3 separate regions of the Homo sapiens genome follow, and regions 2 and 3 are each linked to region 1. Evidence: promoter capture Hi-C in 16 types of primary human blood cells and fetal thymus (Javierre and others, 2016). All regions are on one chromosome and are shown on one strand. Each heading gives the region's core, a stretch centred on a gene start or on the middle of the fragment in contact. The rest is flanking DNA. Distances are from core to core; before and after follow the strand shown. Region 1 holds the start of C20orf173 (chromosome 20 open reading frame 173). Region 2 overlaps PHF20 (PHD finger protein 20). Region 3 overlaps PHF20 (PHD finger protein 20).

Region 1 (3,773 bases), core at 455-2,954:
GGCCTACATGTAGAGTCTTGAAAGCCAGGCAGAAAACTTTAGACTCCATGCTGAAGGCATTGAGGAGCAGGAATTTTAAGAGAAGAAGATACAAGAATCTTTCCTGCCGGGGCACAGTTGTGCAAGACACAGAACAAAGCCTTGGGCCCCAGGGATGACCCTGACCCTGGTAAGACAGCCAGTTGTCCTGGTTGCACCTGGGGAGGAAGGGGGAGGGAACTGACCTGGGGCCCTTCCCACAGCAACCCACAGCCACATCCTACCCCTTTTCCTATTCCCCCTCACCGTGTCTTTGCTATCTTCCACTCCACTAGGGAACCAGACCATCTTCCAAAATCTGAGAAAGAATTGGAGGTGGGGGAGTTTGGGCCACAAGACCTGGGAAAGTCCTGCAAGTGTCCCCAGTAAGCCAATAGAAGGTCTTCCCAGAGCCCCTGCTGTTACTCCCTGCAGTGACCTCCCCTCACCCCCACACAGAGAATGTCTGGGGACACCTCCATCACCTTATCACTTAGAGCATCTGAAGTCCACACCAGGTCAGAGAGCTTCCGCAGTAGCATCTCCAGCTGCATCCAGGAGCCCTGGTCGCTGGCATTCCTGGGATAGATGAAGCATTGTGTGTGGTTTGGTTCCCCACGTCCATCTCAAAGCCCTGGACTTGGGGCCTGCTTCATCTTGGGAAGGGGAGCAGAAACTGATGGAACTGTGGGGCAGGCCTGGCCTTCCTGCTCCCGCCCTCTCCCCAGCACCCACCTGAAAACCACGGGGTATTGGTCGATGTCGTTGCCAAGGCTGGAGCCCTGCGGGATCTGTGGGCGCCCCAACAGCACACAAGTCCCACAATAGAAATCAAAATGGCTCACCGAGAGCCTGGGAATCCCTTTAAACAGCTTCCTCCACAATTTCCCAAGCTCGCTCCCTGAGTTCATGCCCTGGAAACAGCAAGAGGGAGATTGGGGGCTGGGCCCAGGGGAGAGAAAACAGAGCTGGGTGGGTGAGATCTCCATCCAGAGGCTGTGAAGACAGGGCCAAGGGCAGGGATTTGGGCGGAAAGTGGGAGATGGGTGAGGCCCGGAAAGCATGGGGGATATGGCCGGGCCCAGTGTTGACCACTGACCAACCACCAGAGCACAGTGTCAGAGGTCATAGACTCTCTTGTCCTCATCAGGTACCCCATAGTCTTCCTGGAGCACGCATCAAGCCAGTTCCATTCGTCGGCTGTGTGGTGGCAGGAGGAGCAGTTGAGGGTCTCAGAAGGGCAGCCACACTTCCCGGAACTGAACCAAGGGCAGTCGCAATGCTGTGGTACCAAGTACATTCGTTTTTCCTGGGGTGCTGATTCAGGTGTCAGATCCAGATAGGGGGTCATCAGCCAGAGGATGAGCACCCAAAAGACCCACAGGACAAAAATCTGCCAGCGCTTCATGTCTGGCCCAGGCGGTGGCTCCCGTGGTGGGCCGTAGACTGGCTTCTCTACCTGTAAGGATGAGGGGCTGAGGCCACAGACAGCACCAGCTTCCCTCTGTCCTGTCGGCCTCCACAACTCCCCATCCCACCACCTTCCACCTCCTTCCAACCCCTCCTCTCCTGCCTCACTATCCATTTGCTCACCCTCAAAACGGTCTCTGACTGGGCATGGGGTGGAAGAGGCCAGGGCAGAGAGACAGCATGTGGCTAGTCCTGAGAGGGGAAGGAATACCTCAGTGGGGGCCTTGCTGTCATCCCAGTTATATCATAGATCTCATCACAAAGTACACATTGTGACCTCCCTCCTTTAGCCTGCCTGAAAAAAGCCACCACCCTACCCTTTCTCTGACACCGAAATGACCTCCACTGGATGTAAGATTCATGAGGACAGGGGCTGACCTAGTCTCTCTTCTTCACCTCTGCAGCTCTAAGACTTAGAATCATTTAATAAATATTTATGGGATAAATAAACAGGGGTTGAGAGGGAACTTTTTTTTTTTTTTTTGAGATGGAGTTTTTGCTCTGTTGTCCAGGCTGGAGTGCAGTGGCATGATCTTGGCTCACTGCAACTTCCGCCTGCCTGGTTCAAGCGATTCTCATGCCTCAGCCTCCCAAGTAGCTGGGACTACAGGCATGCGCCACCACGCCTGGCTAATTTTTATATTTTTAGTGGAGACAGGGTTTCGCCATATTGGCCAGGCTGGTCTCAAACTCCTGACCTCAAGTGATCCGCCCACCTCAGCCTCCCAAAGTGCTGGAATTACAGGCGTGAACCACCATGCCCAGCCGGGAACTTTATTTTTAAATTATTATTATTATTATTATTATTATTATTATTATTATTATTATTTTGAGACGGAGTTTCACTCTTGTCGCCCCAGCTGGAGTGCAGAGGCACGATCTCGGCTCACTGCACCCTCTACCTCCCGGGTTTAAGTGATTCTCTTGCCTCGGTTTCCCAAGTAGCTGGGATTACAGGTGCCCGCCACCACGCCTGGCTAATTTTTTTGTATTTTTAGTAGAGACGGGGTTTCCCCATGTTGGTCAGACTGATCTCGAACTTCTGACCTCAGGTGATCCGCCCGCCTTGGCCTCCCAAAGTGTTGGGATTACAGGCATGAGCCACTGCACCCCGCCCCAGCCTGGAACTTTAAATATACTTGTGTGTGATGCCCTCTCTGGAGTTGTGTGACATCAACTCAATCCTCTCTTGTAGTCTCTAGACCCCATATCCAACAGCCTACTGAATTGCCACTTAGATGGCTCAGAGACATCTCACCTGAATAAGCCTGAGACTGAACCCAGGATTTTCCCTGTAAACCAACCCTTCCCAAAACTTCTCTGTCTCTTTTGTTTTGTTTGAGACAGAGTCTTGCTCTGTCACCCAGGCTGGAGTGCAGTGGCGCAATCTCAGCTCACTGCAACTTCTGCCTCCTCCGGGGTTCAAGCAATTCTCCTGCCTCTGCCTCCCGAATAGCTGGGATTACAGGTGCGTGCCACCAAGCCCGGCTAATTTTTTGTATTTTTGGTACAAACGGGATTCCACCATGTTGGCCAGGCTGATCTCAAACTCCTGACCTCAGGTAATCTGCCCACCTCGGCCTCCCAAAGTACTGGGATTACAGGCGTGAGCCACTGCACCCAGCTTCAAAACTTCTCTATCTCAACAAATGGTTCCACCACGTACCCAGTTATTGAAACCAGAACTCATGTGTTATTAATTCCTCCTACTCCTATGATACCCAAATTCTTTTTTTTTTTTTTTTTTTAGGACAAAGTCTCACTCTGTCACCCAGGCAGGAGTGCAGTGGCACAATCTTAGCCCACTGTAGCCTCTGCCTCCAAGGTTCAAGCAATCCTTTCACCTCAGCTTGCCAAGATGCTGGGACTACAGAAGTGTGCCACCACGCTAGGCTTATTTATTTATTTAATTTATTTTTGAAACAGAGTCTCACTCTGTCGCCCAGGCTGGAGTGCAGTGGCACAATCTTGGCTCACTGCAACCTCTACCTCCCAGGTTCAAGTGATTCTCATGCCTTAGCCTCCCAGGTAGCTGGGACTACAGGCGCACAACACCACACCTGGCTCATTTTTGTATTTTTTTGGTAGAAACGGGGTTTCACTGTGTTGGCTAGGCTGGTCTCCATCTCCTGGTCTCAAGCAATCCGCCCACCTCGGCCTCCCAAAGTGCTGGAATTACAGGCGTGAGCCACCGAGCCTTGCTGATTTTTTTTTTTAAGTAGAGATGGGGTTTACTGTGCCAGCCCTGTCTCGAACTCAGCTCAAGTGATCCACCCTCCTCGGCC
Region 2 (3,773 bases), core at 324-2,823, 420 kb after region 1:
AACAGACCTAGACAGACAGCTTCCATCTCAGGAACTCCACACACTCCTGTTAACCAAGCTCAGGCACTACTGAGTGGCTTAGACTCTTCCAGTCTGAGCGTTGGTGCGCTTTCACACTGTGCATGCCTCCTGGGCCACCGTAGTATCGGGATGTCTTTGGTGAGCCTGGAACTAGATCCAAGGTAGTTAGGGTGACCTTAAGAGGGGCCTCTCAGCAACTGTAGGATCATCTTGCAAAAGATTGACTGACTCTCTTTGCTGTTGGAGTGACCCATCCAGTCCTGACTGCCTTTTGTCCATTTATTTATTTTTATTTTATTTTATTTTTTTAAGACGGAGTCTTGCTCTTTCTCGCCCAGGCTGGAGTACAGTGGCATGATCTCGGCTTACTGAAGCCTCTGCCTCCCAGGTTTAAGCGACTCTTCCTTCCTCAGCCTCCCAAGTAGCAGGCAGATGCCTGCCACCACACCTGGCTGATTTTGTATTTTTAATAGAGATGGGGTTTCACCATGTTGGCCAGGCTTGTCTTGAATTTCTGACCTCAGGTGATCCACCTCCCTTGACCTCCCAAGGTGTTGGGATTACAGGCGTGCACGTCCGGCCTCTCCATTTATTCTTCTGCCTGTTTGCTGAACAGTCCCCTGTCTCCTTCTAGTTTTTTTTAAAGACTTACTGGTGTTTTGAAACTGGTCACTATCCAGTTTTCTTGCTCAGCAGGCCACTAGTTCCTCTCACATGACTGATCTTTTACTAATGGTTTTCAAGCTTAAGTCTGAGGAGGTGGTCTTATTTTTCTTATTTCCAAGTCCTTGTACTTGCTGGAATTAGGAAGAGAGAGGGTTCCTCCTTCTTGGAACCCCCAAATACCAACAAGAAATATGATGGAGGAGGATAAACTACATAGGGCCCAGAGCAATGGGTAGGGCGCTTTGCTGGACCACACATTCCTTCTCTCGCTGTGTTTGTTGCAGGCTTGCCACATTTCAGACACAGGTGAGTGTTAGGGATATAGTGGCAAGCAAGGCAGACTCAGCCTTTGCCCTCGTGGAACTTGATCTAGTGGGAGAGACATATATTAAACAAATCATCCCATTACCTGTAATGACAAACCATAGTAAATGCTCAAAGGAGAACATGTGATATCATAGCACCTGTAACACAAGGACCAGATTCAGGGTATAGGGTTGGGGAAGGCTTCCCTAAAGAATAGCTCACAAGAAACAGAGGATTTAGAAAGGTGGAGAGGAAGGTAGGGCTGCATCTGAGGACAGGAGAGGATTGCGCAGTAGGTTGCAGGCTGCTTGATGAAGAGGTACTGGGTGGGCCTTTCTTTTGCTGCACTCCAGGGTCCAGAAGGTGCTCAGTACAGGTTGGTGCATGGACTAGAAAGGCTACAGGCAGGCTGGGATAGCACAGGGGCTACCTGCAGGGGGTGGTTCTTGTCAAAGGTGCAGGGTTCCCAGATGGTCTCTCCCCAAATGCCAGAGCTTTAGGGGGTAGCTTAGGGAAGAACAAACATCTTTCTGTAGAGAAATACTTGTTCTCACAAGCAAGACAGCTTTCTAGATATTGAACCAATGATGATAATGTTAATTAATACCTGAAATCTTACATTAAATATTTAAAGGGGTCCTGCATGGTGGTTCATGCCTGTAATCCTAGCACTTTCAAAGTGGCCAAGGCAGGTGGATCACCTGAGGTCAGGAGTTCGAGGCCAGCCTGGCCAACATGATGAAACCCCATCTCTACTAAAAATAACAAAAATTAGCCAGGCGTGGTGGTGTGTGCCTGTAATACCATCTCCTCAGGAGGCTGAGGCAGGAGAATCGCCTGTACCCGGGAGGCGGAGGTTGCAGTGAGTCGAGATCATTGCCATTGTACTCCAGCCCAGGCAACAAGAGCGAAACTCTGTCTCAAAAGAAAAAAAAAGGCCAGGCCCAGTGGCTCATGCCTGTAATCCTAGCAGTTTGGGAGGCCGAGGTGGGTGGATCACCTGAGGTCAGGAGTTTGAGACCAAAATACAAAAATTCGCCGGGCGTGGTGGCACATGCCTGTAATCCCAGCTACTTTGGAGGCTGAGGCAGGAGAATCGCTTGAACCTAGGAGGCAGAGATTACAGTGAGCTGAGATGGCGCCACTGCACTCCAGCCTGGGCGACACAGTGAGACTCCATCTCAAAAAAATAAATAAATAAGTAAATAAATAAAGGGAGAAAATAATAACAGAGTATTCTGTGCCACTGATGATTGCGTATCAATCAGGAATTAATATGAAGCAAATCAGAGTTTATGATATACAAATAGACCTTTTCAAGACCCTATAGATTTTCATTTTTCTTGACAGGATGCTAAAACACCAGGCTCTCTGATTTTCAACATGGGAAAGCTTTTTATTTTTTATTTTATTTTATTTTATTTTATTTTATTTATTTTATTTTATTTTATTTTATTATTTTATTTATTTTATTTTTTGAGATGGAGTCTCGCTTTGTCGCCAGGCTGGAGTGCAGTGGCACGATCTCGGCTCACTGCGACCTCCGCCTCCCGGGTTCAAGCAATTCTCCTGCCTCAGCTTCCTGAGTAGCTGGGACTACAGACGGGCACCACCATGCCTGGCTAATTTTTGTATTTTTAGTGGAGATGGGGTTTCACCATGTTGGCCAGGATGGTCTTGATCTCTTGACCTTGTGATCTGCCCGCCTCGACCTCCCAAAGTGCTGGGATTATAGGCATGTGCCACCGCGCCCGGCTGGGAAAGCTTTTTAAAGAGTGAGTGGTAACACTCAGAAAGGTGCTTCCTTCCAAGACTTCTAGACTCTGGTAACAGTAGCCTCTGGCAATGTGTGGCTGTTTAACCAAAACTGAATAAAATTTAAAATTCAGTTCCTCAGTTGCATTAGCCATGTTTCCAGCGCTCAATAGCTGCATAAGGCTAGTGGCTACTGTATTGGATGACACAGACTTGGACCATTGATCATCGCAGAAAGTTCTTTTGGACTGTGCTGCTCTAAAGCATTTGTGTTTTGTCCTGGGAGTACCACTTTGTAGAGCAGGTGTTGACACAGTGCTGGCTGAAATGGCCCTTCCTCCCTTGCCCCATGGAGGCTGAAATGGCCCTTCCTCCCTTGCCCCATGTCTGATGGAATAAGGTGCTGAAATGCTTGCTGATGTTCTTGCAAATCAAGTGTTGGGAGTTCACTAGGTCTCATCTCTCTCTTCTGCCGACAGTGTTGGAGAGCTGGCTGGACTACACTGGGGAACTGGAGCCCCCTGAGCCGCTGGCCAGGCTTCCGCAGCTCAAGCATTGTATCAAGCAGCTGCTGATGGACCTGGGCAAGGTGCAGCAGATCGCCCTCTGCTGCTCAACATGAAACTGGGCACCCAAAACTCATGGGGGCACAATCCTGGGGCACCTGCAGGAGGAGCTTCGCATATTTAAATAAATAAACCTAGCATGCTGAATGCACGTGACACCGACTGACTTCAGGGATCTGGGCCAGGAGTGTGGTGGACATTGGACAAAGAGGCCATTTTGGCTGCGGGAGGACACTCTGATCTCGAAGCCTGCCATAAAGGTAGCAAATAGACTCTTGGGATTCCCCTCTTCTGTGCACATCGTTGAATGAAGAGAGTCTTTTTGCACAAACTTCACTTGAAATTGTGCCACTGATGATAAACGGAATGAGAGCCAAAAAAGTTTAGTTGGAGACAGTTGTAAATTCAATTTGGAGTTTATTTAATTGACTTTTCTATCACGTTGGGGCACATGCCAAC
Region 3 (3,773 bases), core at 796-3,295, 340 kb after region 1:
TAAAGTACTGGATTAAATAAAATAGTATTTAAATTAACTTTTTAAGTTGTGTTTTTTTTTTTTTTTTTTTTTTTTTGACAGGGTCTCACTCTGTTACCTAGGCTGGAGTGCAGTGGCGTGATTGTGGCTCACTCCATTCTCCACCTCCTAGGCTCAAGCGATGCTCCTATCTCAGCCTCCTGAGTAGCTGGGACTACAGGCACATGCCACCATGCCCAGCTAATTTATTTCTTGTAGAGACAGGGTTTCACTATGTTGCCCAGGTTTGTCTCAATCTCTGGGCCTCAAGCAAGCAATCCTGCCTTGGCCTCTGAAAGTGCTGAGATTACAGGCATGAGCCACCATGCCTGGCACTTAAAAACCAAACCCTCTTATGTGATGAGTAAAAAATTCAAAATTGGCCAGGCGTGGTGGCTCAGGAATTTGAGACCAGGCTGGCCAACATGGTGAAATCCCGTCTCCACTAAAAATACAAAAATTGGCCGGGCATGGTGGTTCATGCCTGTAATCCCAGCATTCTGGGAGACCAACATGGGTGGGTCACCTGAGGTCAGGAGTTCGAGACCAGCCTGGCCAACATGGTGAAACCCCCATCTCTACTAACAACACAAAAATTAGATGAGCGTGGTGGCATGCACCTGTAATCCCACCTACTTGGGAGGCTGAGGCAGGAGAATCTCTTGAACCCAGGAGGCAGAGGTTACAGTGAGCCGATATCGCACCACTGCTCTCCAGCTTGGGTGACAGAGCGAGACTCCATCTCAAAAAAACAAAAAATAATAAAATAAAATAAAATTACATGTGGCTTGCACTCTTAGTATATTTCTGTTGGACAGCACTGACTTTATGTTCACTGGCTTTCTCAACTGAGTTTTGGGAGAGAAGCCACAATACCCAAGGCATCCTTGATCTGTGATGGATTGACCTTAGTGCATTGAGAATGGTACTAGCTGTATACCACCCTTAGGAAAACAGAGAAAATATATCTCTGTTCAGATGGGGAACCCCAGTTGAGAAAATCTGGAAGTTTTAAACCTCCAGGCTGAGCACCATGTTAAGATGTGGGATGAGTGAGAGGCAGGCCCTTTTATGTAAAGTGGGAGAAGGGCAGTTAAAGGCAGTTATTATACAAGGAGAGGTGGAAAATGTAAACTGGCAGAAATCTGACATGTCCTTAGGCAGAAATCTGACATGTCCTTAGCTCAGTTTAGGAAAGAGTATGTATGAGAATTGAGTGTTTTGAAACTAATTCTCCTTTAGGTATTCATGCCCTGGCTTATACCCTCCAGAAGGTATGTACAGAAGTAGTTGTACCCCAACAAGCAGACTGCTCCTTTGAAGCCACATGACTCCATTGAGATAAGAACAAGGACATTCAGTTTTTATATTTTTATAAGTGTAGGATTTCATAATGAGTAGGATAAATTTAATATAGAAGGGATGTTTTCTAAGTTTATGGTTAATCCTTGCCCAAGGCATTTGTGAAAACAGATTCCAGCCATGCCTCAGTTCTTTTCCAGTCAGACTGTCTGGATGGGAATCTGGGAATATGAATTGTTAACAAGCTTCCCAGATGACTTATACTGTAAGAAGAGTTTGGGAAACACTCAAGTTCTGTACAGTCAGCTCCTATTTATATACGGTATCAAAGGGAAGAAGACTTGCCAAGTATCCCATATATTGTTCACATCCCCTTAAAACATTACTTGGAATAAGTTCATTGATTTGTAGAGCCTTCCTTGAGCACCCTAGATTGTATAGACTTGATTGGGAACAGGATCTGAGCTATTTAGAGAGGGTTGTTTATATATATTTTAATTTTTATTTTTTTGAGATGGAGTCTTACTCTGTCTCCCAGGCTGGAGTGCAGTGGCATGATCTCGGCTCATTGTAACCACCGCCTCCTGGGTTCAAGTGATTCTTGTGCCTCAGCCTCCCAAGTAGCTGGGACTACAGGCATGTGCCACCATGCCTGGCTAATTTTTTGTATGTTTAGTAGAGACAGGGTTTCACCATGTTGGCTATGCTAGTCTTGAACTCCTGAGCTCAAGTGATCTGCCTGTCTCTGCCTCCCAAAGTGCTGGGATTACAGGCGTGAGCCACCACACCCAGCCTGTTTGTATTTATGTTTAACTTGGAATGTGTGGGATTTCCAAGTTCTGCCAGTTGGAACAAAATAATATTGGCCCATTGGGAAGTTGGAACACAGGAAGAGCCTCAGAGTTCAACAGTCTTCTCTGGTTTGCTTCCTCACACTTCAGGCCGTGTCTTGTTGAGCCATTTGACCGACCTGAAGCTACAGGTCTTAGATGAGTCTTTTCTGTCCCTCTTCCCCTCTTCTCATCTTTCTCCCTTCCCTTCCTCTTTTCCTCCCATTTACTTCTCTTCTTCCCTCTTCCTTTCCTCCTTCCTCTTCTCTCTCCTCCTTTCACCCTTCCTGAGACCCCTTAGCTCTGCCTTCCTGCCCAACTTCCCAGTTTCTTTCTTCTGCCTGCCTTTTCAATTCTCATCTTTTCTGATTTGGGGTAAGCTTCTTAGGTGGTAGGTTTAAAACAAAATAGTAAGGGCTGGGCATGGTGGCTCACGCCTGTAATCTCAGCACTTTGGGAGGTCAAGGCAGGCAGATCACCTGAGGTCAGGAGTTCGAGAACAGCCTGACCAACATGGAGAAACCCTGTCTCTACTAAAGATACAAAATTAGCCAGGTGTGGTGGCGCATGCCTGTAATCCCAGCTACTTGGGAGGCTGAGGCAGGAGAATCACTTGAACCCGGGAGGCAGAGCTTGCGGTGAGCTGAGATCGCACCATTGCAGTCCAGCCTGGGCAACGAGAGCAAAACTCTATCTCAAAAAAAAGTTAATAGTAAATACTATGCTGGGCAGGTGGCTCACACCTGTAATCTCAGCACTTTGGGAGGCTGAGGCGGGCAGATCACTTGATGTCAGGAGTTCAAGACCAGCCTGGCCAACATGGTGAAACCCCATCTCTATTAAAAATACAAAAAAAAAAAAATTTTGCTAGGTATGGCAGGTGCCTGTAATCCCAGCTACAGGGAAGGCTGAGGCAGGACAATCACTTGAACCCAGGAGGCAGAGGTAGCAGTGAGCCGAGATCGTGCCACTGCACTCTAGCCTGGGCAACAGACCCAGACTTCATCTCAAAAAAACAAGCAAGCAAGCAAGCAAGCAAGCAAACAAAATCTAAATAGTAAGTACTCTTCAAAGGCTTAGCGTCTGTACTGCTAAATTATGTCAGAGCTGGGTTTGCTGGGGACCAGCAGCCTTGCCTGAAACATTGACTGTTAACTAGCATAGTCTCCCAAGAATTTTTTTAGGATTTTGTTTAAGAAAATACAAATTCTCGGCTGGGTCTCATGGCTCATGCTTGTAATCCCAGAACTTTGGGAGGACGAGGCAGCTGGATCACTTGAGGTCAGGAATTTGAGACCAGCCTGACCAACATGGGGAAACCGTGACTCTACTAAAATTACAAAAATTAGCCGGGTGTGGTGTCGGGTGCCTGTAATCCCACCTACTCCGGAGGCTGAGGCAGGAGAATCGTTTGCACCTGGGAGGCGGAGGTTGCAGTGAGCAGAGATCGCGGCACTGCACTCCAGCTTGGGTGACAGAGCGAGACTCCATCTCAAAAAAAAAAAATCCACAAATTCTCTTGGACATTTTTCTTGTACCCTCAAAACTAGGCCCAGTGCTAAGATAATTAATGTAGCAAGTAGAGGTTGAAAACTGGAGCTGGATCATAGAAAAGATTCAGGA

Evidence for each region. Contacts are between HindIII fragments. The CHiCAGO score rates a contact against its expected background, and 5 or more counts as called.
Region 2: a contact is called between a fragment that was not itself captured here and the fragment with the promoter of C20orf173 in region 1, in 1 of 17 cell types (erythroblasts). The highest score is 5.4, in erythroblasts.
Region 3: a fragment that was not itself captured here is called in contact with the fragment with the promoter of C20orf173 in region 1 in 1 of 17 cell types (naive CD8 T cells); the score reaches 5.1 in naive CD8 T cells.

The regions. Positions count from the first base shown.
Region 1 is chr20:35,527,948-35,531,720 of GRCh38, forward strand. It overlaps C20orf173 (chromosome 20 open reading frame 173), which reads right to left and starts at 1,705. Exons shown (of 6, transcript NM_001145350.2): 1 at 1,612-1,705; 2 at 1,118-1,477; 3 at 754-932; 4 at 504-597; 5 at 286-337. The coding sequence starts at 1,426. The coding sequence ends at 311. The HindIII fragment of the contact is 24,584 bases long and covers 1-3,773 here.
Region 2 is chr20:35,944,258-35,948,030 of GRCh38, forward strand. It overlaps PHF20 (PHD finger protein 20), which reads left to right. Exons shown (of 18, transcript NM_016436.5): 18 at 3,228-3,773. The coding sequence ends at 3,370. Among named protein-coding and RNA genes, the nearest start is that of SCAND1, 8.4 kb to the right of the region's middle. The HindIII fragment of the contact is 1,620 bases long and covers 764-2,383 here.
Region 3 is chr20:35,865,447-35,869,219 of GRCh38, forward strand. The region is part of intron 6 of PHF20 (PHD finger protein 20); the gene reads left to right. Among named protein-coding and RNA genes, the nearest start is that of SCAND1, 87 kb to the right of the region's middle. The HindIII fragment of the contact is 965 bases long and covers 1,564-2,528 here.